Regions from separate parts of the Homo sapiens genome. Here regions 1, 2, 3 and 5 are each linked to region 4. Evidence: promoter capture Hi-C in 16 types of primary human blood cells and fetal thymus (Javierre and others, 2016). All regions are on one chromosome and are shown on one strand. The core of a region is centred on a gene start or on the middle of the fragment in contact, and the rest is flanking DNA. Distances in the headings are between cores, read along the strand shown.

Evidence for each region. The method cuts DNA at HindIII sites, captures the fragments that hold promoters and counts their contacts. A CHiCAGO score of 5 or more calls a contact.
Region 1: a fragment that was not itself captured here is called in contact with the fragment with the promoter of HHIPL1 in region 4 in 1 of 17 cell types (endothelial precursors); the score reaches 6.7 in endothelial precursors.
Region 2: a contact is called between a fragment that was not itself captured here and the fragment with the promoter of HHIPL1 in region 4, in 1 of 17 cell types (endothelial precursors). The highest score is 8.4, in endothelial precursors.
Region 3: a fragment that was not itself captured here is called in contact with the fragment with the promoter of HHIPL1 in region 4 in 7 of 17 cell types (endothelial precursors, total CD4 T cells, M2 macrophages and 4 more); the score reaches 8.6 in endothelial precursors.
Region 5: a contact is called between a fragment that was not itself captured here and the fragment with the promoter of HHIPL1 in region 4, in 1 of 17 cell types (endothelial precursors). The highest score is 5.3, in endothelial precursors.

Annotation. Positions count from the first base shown.
Region 1 is chr14:99,852,147-99,855,805 of GRCh38, forward strand. All of the region lies in intron 2 of EML1 (EMAP like 1), which reads left to right. Among named protein-coding and RNA genes, the nearest start is that of EML1, 61 kb to the left of the region's middle. The HindIII fragment of the contact is 1,098 bases long and covers 1,071-2,168 here.
Region 2 is chr14:99,502,299-99,505,786 of GRCh38, forward strand. It overlaps CCNK (cyclin K), which reads left to right. Exons shown (of 11, transcript NM_001099402.2): 7 at 1-78; 8 at 421-686; 9 at 1,313-1,346. CCDC85C (coiled-coil domain containing 85C) reads right to left here. Exons shown (of 6, transcript NM_001144995.2): 6 at 1-3,488. Among named protein-coding and RNA genes, the nearest start is that of CCNK, 23 kb to the left of the region's middle. RefSeq lists enhancers at 309-809, 810-1,310. The HindIII fragment of the contact is 3,437 bases long and covers 1-2,994 here.
Region 3 is chr14:99,873,999-99,877,518 of GRCh38, forward strand. All of the region lies in intron 3 of EML1 (EMAP like 1), which reads left to right. Among named protein-coding and RNA genes, the nearest start is that of EML1, 82 kb to the left of the region's middle. RefSeq lists an enhancer at 2,432-2,984. The HindIII fragment of the contact is 2,213 bases long and covers 852-3,064 here.
Region 4 is chr14:99,642,796-99,646,705 of GRCh38, forward strand. It overlaps HHIPL1 (HHIP like 1), which reads left to right and starts at 2,334. Exons shown (of 9, transcript NM_001127258.3): 1 at 2,334-2,667. The coding sequence starts at 2,413. The HindIII fragment of the contact is 13,444 bases long and covers 1-3,910 here.
Region 5 is chr14:99,896,747-99,900,443 of GRCh38, forward strand. EML1 (EMAP like 1) reads left to right here. Exons shown (of 22, transcript NM_004434.3): 7 at 399-548; 8 at 1,487-1,556. Among named protein-coding and RNA genes, the nearest start is that of EML1, 110 kb to the left of the region's middle. The HindIII fragment of the contact is 7,299 bases long and covers 1-3,697 here.

The DNA.
Region 1 (3,659 bases), core at 370-2,869, 210 kb after region 4:
TTTCTGTCCAGCTAGCTGGCGCCCTCATGTCTACATGAACTTGCAAATGGCTCGTCTTTAGCCAGAATCACTCTTCCTCGTGACTAACTGTAGAAAAGAGAATTCGTCTTGGCTGTAAGATGCCTTTGGCTAAAACGTTTTTTGAGATTACAACATTTAGATGTTCCTTTAAAAATACCTTTCATTGGCTGGGCACAGTGGCACACGCCTGTAATCCCAGCACTTTGGAAGGCTGAGGCGGTCAGATCACCTGAGCCCAGGAGTTCAAGACCCATCTAGGCAACATAGTGAGACCTCATCCCTACAAAAAATTTAAAAATTAGCTGGATGTGGTAGCAAGTGCCCGTGGTCCCAGCTACTCAGGAGGCTGAGGTAGGAGGATTGCTTGAGCCTAGGAGGCCAAGGCTGCAGAGAGCACCACTGCACTCCAGCCGGGTGACAGAGCAAGACCCCATCTCAAAACAAAAACAAACAAAAGGAATACCTTTCATTGTTATTTCAATTTAACAAATTATTTCACAGTTAATGTGTATTTTCCTTAGAGTTGGGAGGGAGGACTGTCTAAGGTTGCGTCTTTGAGTTTTTTTTTCTCAAGTACTTGGCTGCATTTCCACACATCTGTGGGAAGAAATCAATTTCTTTGTCATCCCAGATGTTATCACCAGCTTCGTGTGAGATGGCTGGCTACACCTGTTGGGCTGATGTCTGCATTTTGAATAATCATTTTAAGTAATCTTTTTTCCTCCTGAGTTACAAAGTGATTCAGGTATTTTAAATAGAAACCGCATTATTTTAAGTATTCTTGACCTACCAGCTTTCCAAAAATAAATCTGATGACTGCTGTGTCTGAAAGGGTACATTTGAAGGAGCTGTTTTATATAAATCTTCAGACCTCTAAAACTTCCTTATTTTTAGAAAACTACAGGAAGAAAATAACAGGGTGTGCCCAAGAGTTTTGTTTTCTTGATTAAGAATGATTTGAATTTCATAACTGCACAGAAAAATAAATGTTTTCATAGTCATCTGATATTTCTTTATAAACATTCTTTTTCTAACTGTAAGCAAATCAAAGCTTAGTTGCCAGAAGGTCACACCAAGAAGTAAAAAAAAGATTCACAAGAAAGCAGGTGAATGGGCTGCATCCCCTGAGTGGAGGGACCTTGGGCTCTCTACTTTCTGTGCAGCTAATTAGAGCACAGTGGAAACAGGGGCAGGAGGGGCGTGCCCGTGGGAGGGGCATGCCCACGGGAGGGGTGTGCCCGTGGGAGGGGTGTGCCTGCAGCAGCTGCCCTGGCTGTGCTCATCTTTGAGGCAGCTGCCACGTGGGCACTTGGGAACTGGTGCCCACACCTCTGTCTGTCTTTAGAGCTGGCTCTCTGTGGTCATGGTTGGGGTGGGGAGTCTTTTAGGCAAGATGGATTTTAGGCAAATCTCCTTTGGTTTTAAGTGGCCACACAATTATCACTTCATAATATTTTGGCCTGCCATGCTCATATAGACTTGAAGTAGCCTGGACACATGACATTCTTATTTTTATTTCTGAGACAGATTCTTGCTGTGTCACCCAAGCTGGAGTGCAGTGGCGTGATCTTGGTTCTCTGCAACCTCCGCCTCCCGGGTTCAAGCGATTCTCCAGCCTCAGCTTCCCGAGTTGCTGGGACTACAGGCACACGCCACCACACCTGCTAATTTTTTTGTATTTTTAGTAGAGACGGGGTTTCACCATGTTGGCCAGGCCGGTTTTGAACTCCTGACCTTAGGTGATCCGCCTGCCTCGGCCTCCCAAAGTGCTGGGATTACAGGCATGAGCCACCGCATCTGACCTGCATTCTTATTTTTAAATATCAAATGATTTTTTCCCCCACAGTTAGTTTTTTAATGCTTAGGTCTCACTCAGTATGTTGAGGTTTGGGTGTACAGCTTTTGCTGTCTGCCCAATGCTGGGCGTGGCTGTGCCACCAAGAAGCAGGCAGGTACTCACTGGGGGTCCTGCTCAAAGCCAGTGCGGGAAGAGCGCGTGTCTTTCTGCTGCCGTAGCCGCTAGCTAGTTTTTAGACTGCAGTCAACACTCACTGGCCTCAGCAGTACCTGTGGAGCCATAGATAATCATTCTGATTCCTTTCCACAATAATACTCCACTTATTTGAAGAATGTTATCATGACCTCTAAGCTTTGGCTGACTATCATTCTTCATATGCCTTGACTAGTATAACGATGAGAACTGCAGGTTCATGGAAATAATTCACTGACAGCTAAGGTCAAGGCTTCCTGAAATGGGATGAGATTGTGGCCCACTGTAATGTGCTGGGCCTGTGGATAGGTATTCTGTAGAGAGGGAGCTGTCACTTGTTCCCCTGTCCCTGCGGTTGGCCTGCTTGCACCAGTTACCCAGGTCTTCTTTCCCTTGAGGATACTGCTCTGGGTCTTAGGATTTCCTCAGTCTCTGTGAGCTCCCCAGACTCTGCTTTCTCCTTTTCCTTTGATATTTTTTAAAATAGGAAGAACCGGCTACCATATCACACACCTTCACTGTGGTGAACCTCAGCCCATAAAGCTGGCTTGGTTCATGTTGGATTTACTCTTGGATAGAATGACTTGGAATGTTTCCACTTTGCTGAGCTTGGATTACCATGTAGTGGAGAAAAGAGAATCAAATCGTTCACGAAGGGCTGTATTAAAATTCTTGCTAATACGGAAGTGTTTCAGAGTTGTGGTTGGAGTGGGGCAATACTCTGGTAGCAGAATACAGTGAACAGACCCCTTAGATATTGCTGTTGTGACCGTAAATACAGACAAATGATGGATGAGTAAGGGAATTCATTGCAGCACTGTGCGCAACGGAGAAAAACTGGATAGGAAACAATAAGGGAGCAGCAAGCAGTAGGGGCATGGCCAGGAGATGATGGTGCCTCCATATGATTAAATGCTGTGTGGTCTTTAAAAATGTTTGTGTTACTGGTACAAGAGGGAAAATGCTTACGCATTACATTGAGTCAAATGCAGGCTATAAAACTGTATATACTGTATCATTTCAACTAAATAGACAAAATTTATGCAAAGAAGACTGGAATGAAGTACTGTATAGCAAAAGTAATTCACGGGTTTTTTCCTGAGTAATAGGATTATGAATTTTTAAATACTTTTAGTTAGTTTCTAAATGTTCTGTGGTGTGTATTTCTTAATAAGCAGAAGAAATTTGTGTTCTAAAAAATCACTTCTTTCTTTGCATTGAATCTGAGGTCAACAGCAGGGCTCATGGCAAATGTCAGGAGGCCAGGGGTTTACTCACATGTGTTTTCAAGAAGACAGGGAGTAGTTTGGAGTTCAATCAATCCATTGTATACACACACAGCTGATTTTCATTTTAGTGCAGGGATTTTTAAAATGTAAAATGTAGATGAAAATATAGTCATTGTGCCATGTATCTGGGATTGTCTATTTTGTTATGCATTAACCAGTGAGTAGCTCATATTTCCCATTTGAAATTTTGCTTGTTTGTTCAGACTAGTTAGGCAGCTTCCCTTTTAAAGTACTTTAATATGAAATACTTTAATATGCCTTTGCAACTTTTACAATCAGTTATACCAACTAGTGGATCTATGAATTAGAATATCAAAGAATTATAATAATTATTGGCTTCATTAATTAATGGATCAGAG
Region 2 (3,488 bases), core at 26-2,525, 140 kb before region 4:
AAGAATGGACCTCCAAACCCATGTATAGGAGATGGTGGGAGCAGTTTGTTCAAGATGTCCCGGTCGACGTTTTGGAAGGTACCAGGCATGCTAAGCGTTCTCGTGAGGGTGTTCCATGTTGAGATGATTCTTCCATGTGTACCCTGAGTCCCAAGAATGGATTTTCCCAGATAGACATATGTGAGCAATATTTCAGAAGCATCATTAATTAAATTATCTAATAGTTTCCACTTTGTCCAAACACATACTTTTGGTAAACTAAAAATACACACCAGTGTTGCACACAACGAAGATGGGGTGAGTTGTAAATGTGATTCATGCTTAGGTCCTCGTAGGGGTATCATAACTGATTCTTTATCCAGGTAAAATTTTATTTAAAATACCAATTTGTGTAAAATGTAATTGTTGGCTATCATTTAGACATCTGCCACCAAATCCTGGATCTTTACTCACAAGGAAAACAACAGATGCCTCATCACACCCCCCATCAGCTGCAACAGCCCCCATCTCTTCAGCCTACACCACAAGTGCCGCAAGTACAGCAGTCACAGCCGTCTCAAAGCTCCGAACCATCCCAGCCCCAGCAGAAGGACCCCCAGCAACCAGCCCAGCAGCAGCAGCCAGCCCAACAGCCCAAGAAACCCTCTCCGCAGCCCAGTTCTCCCCGACAGGTTAAGCGAGCCGTGGTGAGTGGGCTAAAGCAGGCCCTGGGTAGAGCAGGCTTTCCAGGTGGCGGCAACACCTGAGCACTGTTCCCATTTCTAAGCGAGCACAGGGAACACCGGAAGCAGGGGGTGTTCGCCGAAACTCGCAGTCCGACTGCTTGTCGGTGGGGAGCCTGAAAACAAAGGTGCTCCAAGGACAGGCTGCCTCTGAGAACCAGGAGGGGGCTCTCTGCCCGGCTCCAGCCCTGCTGCCTGTTTCATCCCTGCCAGGGTTCTGAAGCCTGTCGGTGTCGTTGCCGTGTCCTAGCAGTGTCGTTGTGCATGCTGCTTCTGTGCAGCTGCCTGACCCCAAACAGTGGACCGTTTCCTGCACCCAAGTGGTCCTGAAACTTAGTGTTTACTCAGAACTCACCATTCAGGAAAGCTAGTCATTCTGTCTTATTTGGTAAATGGAAAGAGGAAGGGAGCAGAAATGATGATCTGGTAGGTGCCGTGGTTTGCCCTGAAAGTTCAGGCTAGAAATAATTTTTGTCCGAGGCTGTTCACAGTGACTGCCGTCGCTGATTCTGGTGGTACCTGGATAATCCATTTTTTTCTCATCATACTCAGGATCCCAGTTAACAATTGTGTATTTTCTTTTGTAACAGGTTGTTTCTCCCAAAGAAGAGAACAAAGCAGCAGGTAATTTCCTGTTCTGATGTTTTTTTAGTTTTATGTGTTTATATGCAAAACTTTAAATTCTTAGCCAACATTGTTTCTTTTCAGATCTAAATTGGCCTTAAATCTTAACTTTAGAGCTCATACAAAACTTTTCCATCAGCATTGTCTTTCTGTTCATCACCTGATCATAGATTCTAAAATTGTGCTCTTACGAAGCTATCAGTACAGAAAACATTACTGGCAATAAAAATGTACTCAGTAACATATATAAAAGTATAATTATGGCTGTAGGAGAACTGTTGCTGCAATTTTATTTTTAGAGACTATTTACCCCCATCACAGCAGCAGGAGTCCTCTCCCAAGCACCAAGCCACAGCAGATGCGGGGGGGCAGTAGGGGGTGGTGTGCTGCCCGGACAGCACCAGCCCGGCCCAGCCCAGCTGCCCTTGCAGGCAAGGCCTCTTTGAAACACACTTGGGTTGAGGTGCTGTCACATGTCTAGAACCCAAAGTTAGTTCATGTCAATATTGGAAATAAACAGAAGGAGTGAGCAAAATTGGAACAATTACAAAACAGAAAGTTAGAAATGTTTTGTCACAGGGTCAGTCCACCTATCATACTGAACTCTTTGAAGGCACAGACCCTATTGACTCATTTGTCTTTCTTTGTTACTTGGTTCTTAGTTCCAGTAGTTCCTGGTTCTTAGAACCATGTTCTCGGTTCTTAGTTCCATTCATTAAACTGCTGTGAAATCTTCCAGTTATGATAGAGCTACTTTTTTTTTTTTTCCAGTATATTTGAGGGAATGATGAGTTCAGTACAGGTGAATTTTTTTTTTTTTTTTGAGACAGAGTTTCACTCTTGTTGCCCAGGCTGGAGTGCAGCGGTGCAATCTTAACTCACCACAACCTCCGCCTCCTGGGTTCAAGCAATTCTCCTGCCTCAGCCTCCCGAGTAGCTGGGATTACAGGCATGCACCACCAGGCCTGGCTAATTTTGTATTTTTAGTAGAGACAGGGTTTCTCCATGTTGGTCAGGCAGGTGTCAAACTCCCGACCTCAGGTGATCTGCTCGCCCCAGCCTCCCAAAGTGCTGCGATTACAGGCATGAGCCACCGTGCCCAGCCTACAGGTGAATTTTTTAATTAGCTTCAAATTGACCGACATTAAATGTTAGACACAAGAACGGGCTACACTCCATGCCACATGAAATGCAATTGAGTTGACGTGCAGGTCTGTCAGAGGCAGGAAACAAACTATATATGACCTTGAAGGAAGAGTTGCATTTGAGCAGCGAGAGCAGAGGGGGAGGATGGAGCAATAAGTTGGAAGTACGCAAGTGAGCAAAGGAATTGAGAATCAGGGGAAATGGAGAGGAGTCTTTCTGGAATGTGATGAATTGAAAGGCAATAGCTTCTGATAGGATCTAAAATGTGGGTTAGGACCAGATCACAGAGTTTACCTGGAGGACTGTGAGTTTGGCAGAGGCAAGGGAAGCCATTGGAGATTTAGCAGGGGAATGGCAGAGTCTAAATTCATTTGAGAAGGAGTCCCCTGGCAGCAGTAAATAGGGCAAGTGGTTAGGAATGGGGAGAATCTTGCTGGCACTCATGGGAAACATGGTGGCCTCAGCATGCTGGCTGCGGGGCAGGAAGGGCAGATCCGGAGGAAGCTTTATAGAGGAACTCAGCTGCACTGTGCCATGCCGAAGGCTACTGGCTGCAGAGGGCTGCAAGCACTCGAAATGTGACTGGGTCAAATTCTGAAGCACTGACAATGCAAAATACACAGAGATTTCCAAGAAAGGAGAACGTAAGACATCTCATTAGTAAAGCTTTATATTGGTTACATGTTGAAATAAAATTTTCGATCTATCGGGTTAAATAAATTTTATCCTTTTTCCTTTTATTTCCAGAGTCTTGCTCTGTTAATGCAGGCTGGAGTGCTCCTTTTTCTTGTTAAAGTGGTTCCTGGCACACTTGTAATCCCAGCACTTTGGGAGGCCAAGGCATGCTTTGAGCCCAGGAGTTCCAGGCCAGACTGGGCCACATAGGGTGACCCCATCACTACACAAAACTTAAAAATCAGCTCGGCGTGGTGGCGCCACACCTATGGTCCCAGCTACTTGGGAGACTCAGGCAGCAAGATCACTTGAGCCTGGTTG
Region 3 (3,520 bases), core at 708-3,207, 230 kb after region 4:
CATAAGAGCTGTCTGTCAGATTTCTGTTTTGGTTGTAAAAGTTTGGGATACTTTTGCAAAATTTTGGAAAATCAATTTTTGATTCCCAATCACATGATGAAAGAAAACCTAATTGTAGCTTCTTATGCTTAGAATTCTTATTAACCATAAGAAGAAAGACATCTGTTTTTCTTATGGTCACCAGTCTCCCTGCAGAAATTTTATTATGTCTAAAGTGTTAAGTGGCACAAATTGTTGAATGCATATGCAATGTAATATAAAGAACCATTTATTTTCATAACTTACAAGGTTGCAGGTTTGGGTGTGCGGACAGAGAGCAGAAGGGAAAACAAAATAAGTGGTGATGTCTATGCATTTCTATACAAAAAATACTTGCCTTAAGCACTAAAAAATATACTGCATTATTGCACAGTCTCTCACAAGCCAGTACTTCTACCACTTTCAAAATAAAGAGCATTATTTTTCACTCGCCGTCCAGAGAGAACATAGCTTCTTTGATATTCCCTGCTGGTTATTTGAGGAGGCTTCCTGCAGTGAGTGTACGGTATTGCTCTCTCTGGCTGCCCTTGTTACTGCAAATGTCTTGTCTTTAAGCTTTATTTTCTGTCCTTCACTTTGAGTCCTAGTAAATCCTCTTTAATTCATAAGAGCCCTTGGTTCTCAAAAGGAAATGTCTTGTTTTTTATTCTACGTCTGGGACAACAGTAAGATTTTTTTAAAAAGTTTAACATTTTAATGCAAATATGGGAATGACAAATATCTTGGAAGAGTTGTGAAGGATTATATCCACGTCTATATTTGCGAACCAAAATGTCTTTCGATTTTGATGTGTGCGTCCTGCAATTTACTGAAGCTTATCAAAATACTTTTCCACGCTTTTATTAATTGCACTCACATTTATTCTGCTTTATTTCTGTGCCTCTTATATGTAGATTAAACAGATCTGTGAGTCTTCTCAATGCTTGCAAACTGAATAGATCGACACCAAGGTGAGGGGAACTTAGATTTACTTTGTCACCATAGCTGTTCCTTCCATTGTTTCCATCTCTGTTTTAACGTAGTAGCTTCAAGGTCTTGTCCAGTGCCTACCATTCATCAAGTCATCAATCATGTAACTATATTAATCATTGACATTTATTGTTTTTTTAGATGCTCAACTGGTCCTCCAAAACAGTATACTTTGGCGGTTCATAAATTGCAGATGGTGTTAATTAGGGGCCTAATAGAGAGAACACAGGGTTGAAGTCACCAGCCCCACCACTTGCTGTAACCCCAAACAAGTTGCTTCACACTCCTGAATTCGGTTCTTCATCTGTAAAATGAGGATAATGATATTGCTGCAGGGGATTTGTGAGGTTTGAATTAAGTAATACAGTATATGTAAAAGTCCAGAGTATGCCTTAAACGTTAACTGTGGCTGCTGCTGCTGCAGTTTTCATCACTGGCACCCCCGTGAACTCTTCCAGCCACCAGGTTGAGTGTTAATTATTAGAAAATCAGTTAGTGTTTGCTGTAATTGATGAACAGTTGTGGTTTTTCAGCTCTTTAAGGGTGTTTTATACAGTTCTTTAAGTTGCTATGAACTTGCCATGAACTCCCACAAGGACGCCCCAGAAGCTGTGCTCTGGGCTCTTCTTGCGGCTGCAAAATCTCCCAGGGCCCCGGCAGCTGGTTGGGCAAAGTGTGCATCAGAGCCTTGTACTAAAGACTGGGCGGAGAATAATCCTGCTAAGTCAAATTAGCTTGGTGTTTGTCGTCATGGGAACATCTTGAACTTGAAGCACAAAGGCTCCTATAATTTTTAGACTTTAATCCCAAATTTCAGAAATGTAATGCTCTCTTAAAATCTGTAATTTCCTTGTCCCCAAATTGAGCATTCTAAAAACACACATTTTGACCTTAAGGCACACCCTGCAGATTGCAGTTGTAAGATTCTGGCACTGTCCACTCAGGGGTTCCCCAGTTAACAAAAAGACTATGTGGAAAGTGTATTCAGATAATCACCCTGAGAGTGATTTCAAAGCCAGCATACCATGAGGGTTTTTAAAAACCTGCTTGGAGATTACTAACTGAGCCACTGGAAGTTGCAAAGGAAGGAAGAGTGAAAGTTGAGCTAAGGAGGGTGTATAGACAGAGGAGACAGAGAGGGGAAGGAAGGAAGAGAGGAGAGAGTCACTGGCTACCAAGAAGGAGAGTGGCCAGCCCCAGGCAGGAGCTGCCTGGATGGGAGGCTTGTCATTTACTTATGAGGAGGGAGGACGTTGAGCTTCAGTGCAGGCGCAGGGGTCTTGCTGTGTTAAGTTCCTCAGCTCCTGCGTGCTCCTTGTTGAGATCTGGTCCCCGTGCACCCTTCACTGAAGCTGTGCCCACTGGCGCCGCCTGAGACTCCCCACTTCCCAGGGCTCACCCCCTCCTCTGTGCAGCACCAGCACATTTACCTAATCCTGCGCTAGCCTTTGCGCACCACTCCTTCTCTCCTGGTGTCGCTGCTACCTCTGACTCCTGTGGTAGCTTCTCAGCCCACGTCTTTAAACATTAGTTTCCCCAGGGCTCTTCTGTCCTTGGTCACCTCCTCCCTCGGTGATTTCCTCTGCATCCGTGGCTCAGCACCCGCCAGATGGATAGAGTCTGTCCTGAGCTGTCTCGCGTGTTGCAGGCTTGTATTCTCACCCACCCACACCTCCAGCTCCAAGTGTCAAGACTAGAGCCACCCAAGTCTGTGTGTGTTCCCAGAGCCCTGGCCCTAGAACAGCCCCCTGCCTGCCCCTCCCCTCCTCCTTTTTTGCTTACAGAGCAGGTGCTGCATTAAAGCAGTTTGTGTCTCTTCTGGTGACAGGGTCAGTGTGTGATACTTCCATTTATTTCATCCTTTCATTTAATAAATGTGTACCAAACTTTTGTATAGGGCTCTGCAAAGCTACGAAAATGATAAATGAGATAAGATCTCAAGAAATGCGTGGACTAATGATGTAGATTTTTAAGTATGTACAGAGATACCTATACTAGAGTTATGTGCTCTGTCTTAGTGAGTTTGGGTTGCTGTAACAAAGTCCATAGACTGGGAAGCTTATAAACAGCAGAAATATATGTCTCACCATCCTGGAGGCTGGGAGTCCGAGACCAGGGGGGCCAGCATGGTCAGGTTCTGATGAGGGCTGTCTTCCAGGTTGCAGGCGGCCATCTTCTCACATGGTGGAAAAGGGTAAGAGAGCTCTCTGGGCCTCTTCCATAAGGGCACTAATTCCACTCATGAGGGCTTCACCCTGCTGACCTCATCACCTCCCAAAGGCCCCACCCCCTAACACCATCACATTGAGGGTTAGGGTTTCCACACATGAATTTGGGGAATACAAACAGTCCATAGTGTGCTCTAAGAGGGGAACAATCAGCCTCCACTCCATACCTGGGCTCTGGTTTACCCCTCATGCCTACGAATCCCCTGTGTATAGGGGATCCCTTCTCCTAGAGCAGGCTCTTTCCATCTGTGTCATAACAACACATTCAAGCCATTCATTTGATC
Region 4 (3,910 bases), core at 1,084-3,583:
TTACAGGCATGAGCCACTGTGCCCGGCCTTCATTTTTTTTCTTAAAGTGGACCCCTCTCTGCTTCTATTACCCATTTGTCCTTGCCAATGTCCTTGTCAATATTCAGAGATGTTTGGTCTTGATGTTGTCAACTTTTTCCACCAGAGCCCTTAACATATTAGTCATAGTTATTTTAAATTCCATGTCTGGTAATTTCAGCATCTGTGTCATGTCCCAGGCTGGCTCTGATGCTCCTTCTGACTGACTTTTTTTTTTCTTTTTTGAGACAGAGTCTCGCTCTGTCACCCAGGCTGGAGTGCAATGGCACGATCTCAGCTCACTACAGCCTCCGCCTCCTGGGTTCAAGCGATTCTCATGCCTCAGCCTCCCAGTAGCTGGGATTATAGGCGCGTGCCACCACGCCTGGCTAATTTTTGTATTTTTAGTAGAGACGAGATTTCACCATGTTGACCAGGCTGGTTTCGAACTCCTGACCTCGGGTGATCCGCCCGCCTCAGCCTCCCAAAGTTCTGGGATTACAGGCGTGAGCCACTGTGCCCGGCTCCTGACTGTGACTTTTCTTATCTTTTTTTCATGCCTTGTTGTTTTTCTGGAAAGCCAATCAGGATGTACTAGATAACAGAAACCGAGGTAAATAGGTATTAGGGTGAGGATTTATGTTACTCTGGCTGGGGCTGGGCTGTGTTTGACATTTTCTGTGGCTGTAGGAGCCCAAACCTCATGGCTGTGGCCCAGGCTCTGTGTCACTTCCACCTCTGTACACTCATCTGGAGCCCTGTGTTGATGTGTGACTATCACCCAGTTCTGAGTCCCAGCTGGGAAGTAGGCGCCATCGTGCCCTCCGATTCCATCCTGGCTCTGCCTATTCCCAGCTGTCTGTGCAGGAAGCCGTTGCAGGCCGCATTTCCCACCCTAGCAGCCCTCTGCTAGGTTCAGCCAATGAAAGCCACAGGTGGGAGTTGGAGGGGAAGTGGCAGGGAGAAGCCGGGGTATTTCTCCTCCTCTGTCTGTGCAGAATCTCTGACAGTGGCTATCTCCAGCTGTGGCCAGACAGGCCTTGTGAGGGTCCAGCTTTGACAAGGTGACCATAGCTCCTTGGCTCCAGTAACATCTGCTCTTCCTGCATCAAGGACCTGGGGACTGTTCCTACTGTTGCTGATCTCAAGGTTACTTCACTGAGCCCTGTATGGCTTCTTAGCCTCTTTGGCTTCAAGTCCCTGCGTTAAATTCCCCGTGTTTCAAATACTCAGAGATGTTTGGCTGTGCGGAGACCCTGACTCTTACACTGCACCTGTTCAGGCCAGAGCCACAGACCTCTGAGTGCTCCAGCCCTGCCGCATCTCATCCACCCCCAGCTCTGCCAGGAGCATGGGCCCAAAGACAGAAACATGATCCCCCAGGACAGTCCAAAGAGACCTGCAGAGGACGGATGTGTGCGTTGGGGCCATGAAGATGGAGTAGGAGCTCACTGGACAGAGAAGATGGGGAAGGACACTCCAGGGAGAAGCAAACGCTGAGGTCCACTTGAGAAAAATGCCTGGGTGGTTTTGGTGCTGTGAGATTCTAGGGTAGGTGAGACAGTGTGTGTGTGTTTGTCTGTGTGGGTGGTTTTGGTGCCATGAGATTCTGGGGTAGGTAAGACAGCGTGTGTGCGTCTGTATGTGTGTGGGGGGGTGGGGCGGGGTTGGGTCTGAATCTCCAGCGGGGGCAGCGGAACAAAGGGCTGGATGCCCATCCCAGGAGGTAGATTCATCAGTGCTCCCTATGCGAGAGTGGAAGTGGGGAGCCCCAGTGGGTCCTGGGCTGCAGGAGAATCCGCTGCCCCAGGAGCAGAGACTGGGAAGAAGCCCACAGTAAGGGCAAAGGGTGGACTGCGGAGACTGCTCCGTCCTCCCTCCCCACCCCTACGCCAGGTTTCACTTCTCCCTGAGAGTCCTGGGGCAACACCCCCTGTTCTTTCCCTCGCACCCCCATTTTTAAAATGTTACGTGGGAGCTTTCGGGGACGGGCTGCGGGCATCCGTTTCCCTAGCCCAGTGGGAGGTGGAACCGAAGCCCAGGAGTCCAGGCCTCTGGCCCTGCGCCTCCCTGGCTAAAGAGCGCCCTGTGGGGAGGAAGCAGGGCCCCAGGCGGAACCGGGAAAACACACCGGGGCTTTAAACAGACCGGGCCACTCCCATCGAATTTGGAAAGCGGTTAAAAGAGGTCGTGCCGCATTCTGCGCCGCGTCCCTCTTCCTTCAGTCCCGCCGAGTGTCCCCGACCAGAGGTGACCTCCTAGAAGGGGAGGTCCCCAAACTCGAGGCCCTGCGTGTAGGGAAGGGGAGCGCCCGCCCCTTCCCTGCCGCCGCGAGCGCCCCGGGAGGGGACCGGGGCTGCCGTCCCTCCGCCTCTTCCCCCGCGGGGCGTAGCGATGGCCCGGGCCAGGGCCGGGGCGCTGCTGGCGCTTTGGGTGCTCGGGGCCGCCGCGCATCCGCAGTGCCTGGACTTCAGGCCGCCCTTCCGGCCGACGCAGCCGCTGCGCCTCTGCGCGCAGTACTCGGACTTCGGCTGCTGCGATGAGGGGCGCGACGCCGAGCTGACCCGCCGCTTCTGGGCCCTGGCGAGCCGCGTGGACGCCGCCGAGTGGGCCGCGTGCGCCGGCTACGCGAGGGACCTGCTGTGCCAGGTGAGCGGGCGCGCGGCCACCGGGCGGGGCGGGGCGCGGGAGGCCGAGTCCTGGAGCAGAGATCGGAACCCCGCGGGGGCGAGGGCCAAGAGTGGGCGGCGGACTCGGGAACTCTAAGCCCCAACAGGGAGTCATTTGGCACGGGGCGGGGAGACCGCGCATCCCAGGACGACTCTTGGCTTTGCCATTCATTAGTTTTGTGACTTGGGCCTTCTCGGGGCCTCAGTTTCCCCTCCTGAAGCAGGAAGGACGGACGGACGGACAGATGATGTCATCATTTCCTCAGAGGTTGGGGGCTCTTCTGCCCCAGTCCCCTGGAGTCGACCCCTCAGCGTCCCACCCCGAGCAGCTGCACCCTTGTCGGGGTACCAAGGTGGAGAGGCATCTGTCCCGGTCAGTGCTCCTTTGTGTTGTCCCCGGGGCAGTGAAAGCAGGGGGCCCTGGCGTGGGCGTGGTCAACGTGTGGCCCGGGTTTGTTGAGGGGGTTGGGGCCACTGTCCCCCACGAGCGTCTCACCCCCATCCTGATGCCCTTGCCACTTCCGCCACCACCTCTGTGGGTGCTGTGCCCTCTCCTGGGGATGGCGCCCTGGCCTGCAGAAGCTCTCTCAAGACTGAGCGACAGCTCTTTGTTGAAGCCCCTGGGCCCCCCATCTTCCCTCTGAGGGTGGAGCCCCTGCTTCTGTGCACACCTGGTGGTGCCACCGCTATTTGTTTTCCTCTTGTGGGAGTCTGAGGCCCCAGGGCCTGACCACACCCAAGTGGGCAAATGTTGCCTGGCTGAATGCAGAAATGGAGCAGGACGGGCAGCCCCAAGGCATTCCTGCCTCAGCATCTGGGCAGTGAGAGGCCTGGGGTGGAGAGGCCCCAGGGGCCAGGGCCGTGTCCCAGCCTTCGGCCAGCAGGGGCAGGTGGTGTGGGGAAGGGCAAGAAGGCTGACTTGGAGTTGGAGTTTGATCCTGGCTCTGTCACTTCCCCAGCTTCGTGACCTGGGCAGGTCACTGCTGCACCTCACAATATCTTTAAAATGAAGCTGAGTATGGTGGCTTATGCCTGTAATCCCAGCACTTTGGGAGGCCAAGGTGGGCAGATCACTTGAGGTCAGGAGTTCGAGACCAGCCTGGCCAACATGGCGAAACTCCATCTCTACAAAAATACAAAAATTAACTGGGCATGTTGGGGAGCTCCTGTAATCCCAGCTACTCGGGAGGCTGAGGCAGGAGAAGCACTTGACTCTGGGAGGC
Region 5 (3,697 bases), core at 507-3,006, 250 kb after region 4:
TTTTTTTACCTTTTATGTATGTTTGTGTGCATGTGTGTGTGTCATTTGTACCCTTTGTAAGTACTTTTACCATGTTTAAAAAAGGAATTTTTTAGTAAAAATTTAGCTCGTAGATTACAGTAAAAAAATTAATAATTGACTCAATAGCTTTCTAAAAATAAAACCAAATCATTGTGAAAATATGTATTCACATTACATCAATGACTGTTTCAACTTTACTGCATGCCTTTTGGGGGTCACATGTATTTGTCATGGAATATTTGCAATTTAATGTTGTTTAAATTAGTGATGCTGATGGTAATAGTTATATGGTATTTTATTGCCTGTGCCTGTTGAATAAAGCTGATGTTTTGTCAGCTCTTAAAGGGAAAAAAAATTTTATCTTGACATCCACAAAGCTATGGGTACAGGGGTCGAGACTGCCGTAACAACCTGTACTTGCTTCCGACGGGAGAGACCGTCTACTTCATCGCATCCGTGGTGGTGTTATACAACGTGGAGGAGCAACTGCAGAGGCATTACGCTGGCCACAACGATGACGTGAAGTGGTAAGTCCTGAAACAGGTCATTCCTGCGACTCAGAAGGCGAAGGTAGGAGGATCGCTTGAGGCCAGGAGTTCCAGACCATCCTGGGCAACAGTGAAACCCTGTCTCTAAAATAAATAAATAAATAAATGTGATTCCTGTTGCACAGGTGGAAATAGCATTAGCAGAACACGGTCAGTATTGGGACATAACTAAAGAGAAGGAAGAGGGTCTGAGGAAATGAGGTCTTTGGGAGAGCTCTTCTGTGTGGTCTCCTTGTGGTCCGCTCACTACTGCGCTCCGTGAGACCCCTCTCATGTTTAATTTTCCAGCCTCACCAACGCATGAGCTTCACGGACCACATTGTCTCAACAAACAGCGCCACCTCTTTGGAGGCCTTCTTAACACATCATGTATTAAAGGCTTCTAATTTGGGTCTTTATTTTTTGATAAACATAAAAATGTGTTGCCTCATGTTTGTGGCTGAGTCGGCTCTTCCCATAATTCATTTATAGCTTTTGGTAGGCATATTACATATCTTGGAAGGATGGATGCGTGAAGAGATGGATTTATATATTTGTATTTGTCCTGGTTCCTTGGTCAATGATAAAAATCCTGTTCACGAAAGATGGTATCTTTCCTATTTATGTACTCAACATGACTTTTTAATAAAGATTGTAGACTAATGTAGTGGTTCTGAGATTGAAATGGTATTTTCCCAGCAGAGGATGCTTTTTCCTTCAGTTTGAAAATTCTTAAGAAGAAATAAGGGAATTAAGATGAAATGAATTAGGTACTAGTTGTCTAACGTCGTGGTGCTCAGAGAATTTGTCATGAGTCTGTAAGAAGTTAGGCATTATATATTTCTTATATTTAAATTTTTGACTAGATTATATTTGAGCAAGGGAAAAGTAAAACTTACCTGCAACATGTAGATGTTTTGTAAATATCCTTTTCTTAGCCTAGCAGTTCATCCTGATCGGATCACGATAGCAACAGGACAAGTTGCGGGCACATCGAAGGATGGAAAAGTGAGTTACGTTACCTTTTCATTGTTTCATAATGAACTGGTAACACAAAGTAATTTTTAGAAAACATTGTGCTGCTGAGTAAGGCTGCTTAGATATAATTATGGTATCTGAAAACTTCTGAACCCCTCACTAGAATTTTTTATTGTAAATTAGAAGACTTATTGTGTGGCAGGGTGCGGTGGCTCACGCCTGTAATCCCAGCACTTTGGGATGCCAAGGCAGGCTGGATCTCTTGAGGTCAGAAGTTTGAGACCAGCCTAGCCAACATAGTGAAACCCGTCTCTACCAAAAATACAAAAATTAGCCAGGCGTGGTGTCACATGACCGTAGTCCCAGCTACTCTGGAGGCTGAAGCAGGAGAATCACTTGAACCCGGGAGGCGGAGGTTGCAGTGAGCCAAGATCATGCCACTGCACTCCATCCTGGGTGACAGAGAGAGACTAAGTCTCAAAAAAAAAAAAAAAAAATACTGACTGTGACCTTAAAAATCCCTGGAGCTCATCTTAATTTCATCAGATTTTTAAATAGCATTGTTCTGAACAAAGAATTCGCTAATTCTTAAAATGTTTATTTATATGATAAGTATTAAAAATATGAAGGTAAACATTTAATAAAGTTAAAATTATAATAATAATTTGAATGTACAACATTTTGCCAAATTTCAGCCACCCTCTGCCCTGTCCTGTGAATGTCGTTTAACAGTCGTGACTTTAACCCGTGAAGTTTGTGTCTGTGTGCAGTCACAAAAGCTACTAGGAGGTTTTTAGCACAGATTTTGCAAGCACTTCAGCAAGACTTTAATTTGCATTTTAAGGCGTTAGAGAGGGAGCTTGTAGCTTTTTTGATATCTACTTTTATATAGCTTGTTATTGCATAATATTTTATCTGAAACTAATTTAAGTACATACATTTTATCAACATGTTTTCATCCAGAAAAAATGAATACTACCATATTTCAGAAAATATTTTAGTAACATTGGATTTTAAATATTAATCTTATGCTATTTTCCATTAATTTTTTTTTTTTTCTTGAGACAGGGTCTCACTCTGTCACCCAGGCTGGAATGCAGTGGCACAATCACGGGTCATTGCCACCTCTGCCCCCACAGGCTCAAGTGATCCTCCCACCTCAGCCTCCTGAGTAGCTGGGAGTACAGGCACACGCCACCTCGCCCGGTTAATTTTTGTATTTTTGGTAGAGACAGCGTTTCACCACATCGCCCAGGCTGGTCTCAAACTTCTGGGCTCAAGCGATCTGCCCACCTCAGCCTCCCAAAGTACTGGGATTACTGGCGTGAACCACTGCGCCTGACCTGCATTAATATTTTATACTTGAAAAGAGTTAACAGAAATAATGGAAATCAGACCACTATTATGTAAATAAATTTACTTAAATTGAATGGGTCTTTCAATTTTTTTTTTTTTAATGTTAAATGGCTTTGAAAAATTCTTTGAAATTAGTGGTAAGCTATTTGTTCCTCCCTCTAGTGGCTTAAAAGTATATTTCAGTTTCTGGCATTGAAATTGAATCGGTACTTTAGAACTAGAGAAAAATATTATAGTTATCTTTCAGTTTACCCATAGAGAAATCCAGAGAGGCCTAGTGAATGCCCGCGGACACCCAGCTGCTTAGAGATTAGACTGAACTAGAACTTGGTTCACCTAACGCCTGCCTAGTGTTTCTACTAGGTCCAAGGCCAGCACCTTTTCTTACTGATAAATCTACTGATTGCTCTATGATGTTTTCTTCTATTAAGGAAGAGAAAAATTAGCGTAAATAACCTAGGAACACAGTTGAGAGGATTTTAAACCAATTATAACAATTCTAAATCTTATTTGTACATAATTGATGCCTGTTTTGCCCAAGAATATTAAGCTCTTTTTTTTTTTTTTTTTTTTTTTTGAGACAGAGTTTTGCTCTTGTTGCCCAGGCTGGAGTGCAGTAGTGCAATCTTGGCTCACTGCAACCTCCACCTCCCGGGTTCAAGCGATTTCCTGCCTCAGCCTCCCAAGTAGCTGGGATTACAGGCATGCACTACCACGCCCGGCTAATTTTTTGTATTTTGTAGAGACAGGGTTTCACCATGTTGGTCAGGCTGGTCTCGAACTCCTGACCTCAGGCGATCCACCTGCCTCAGCCT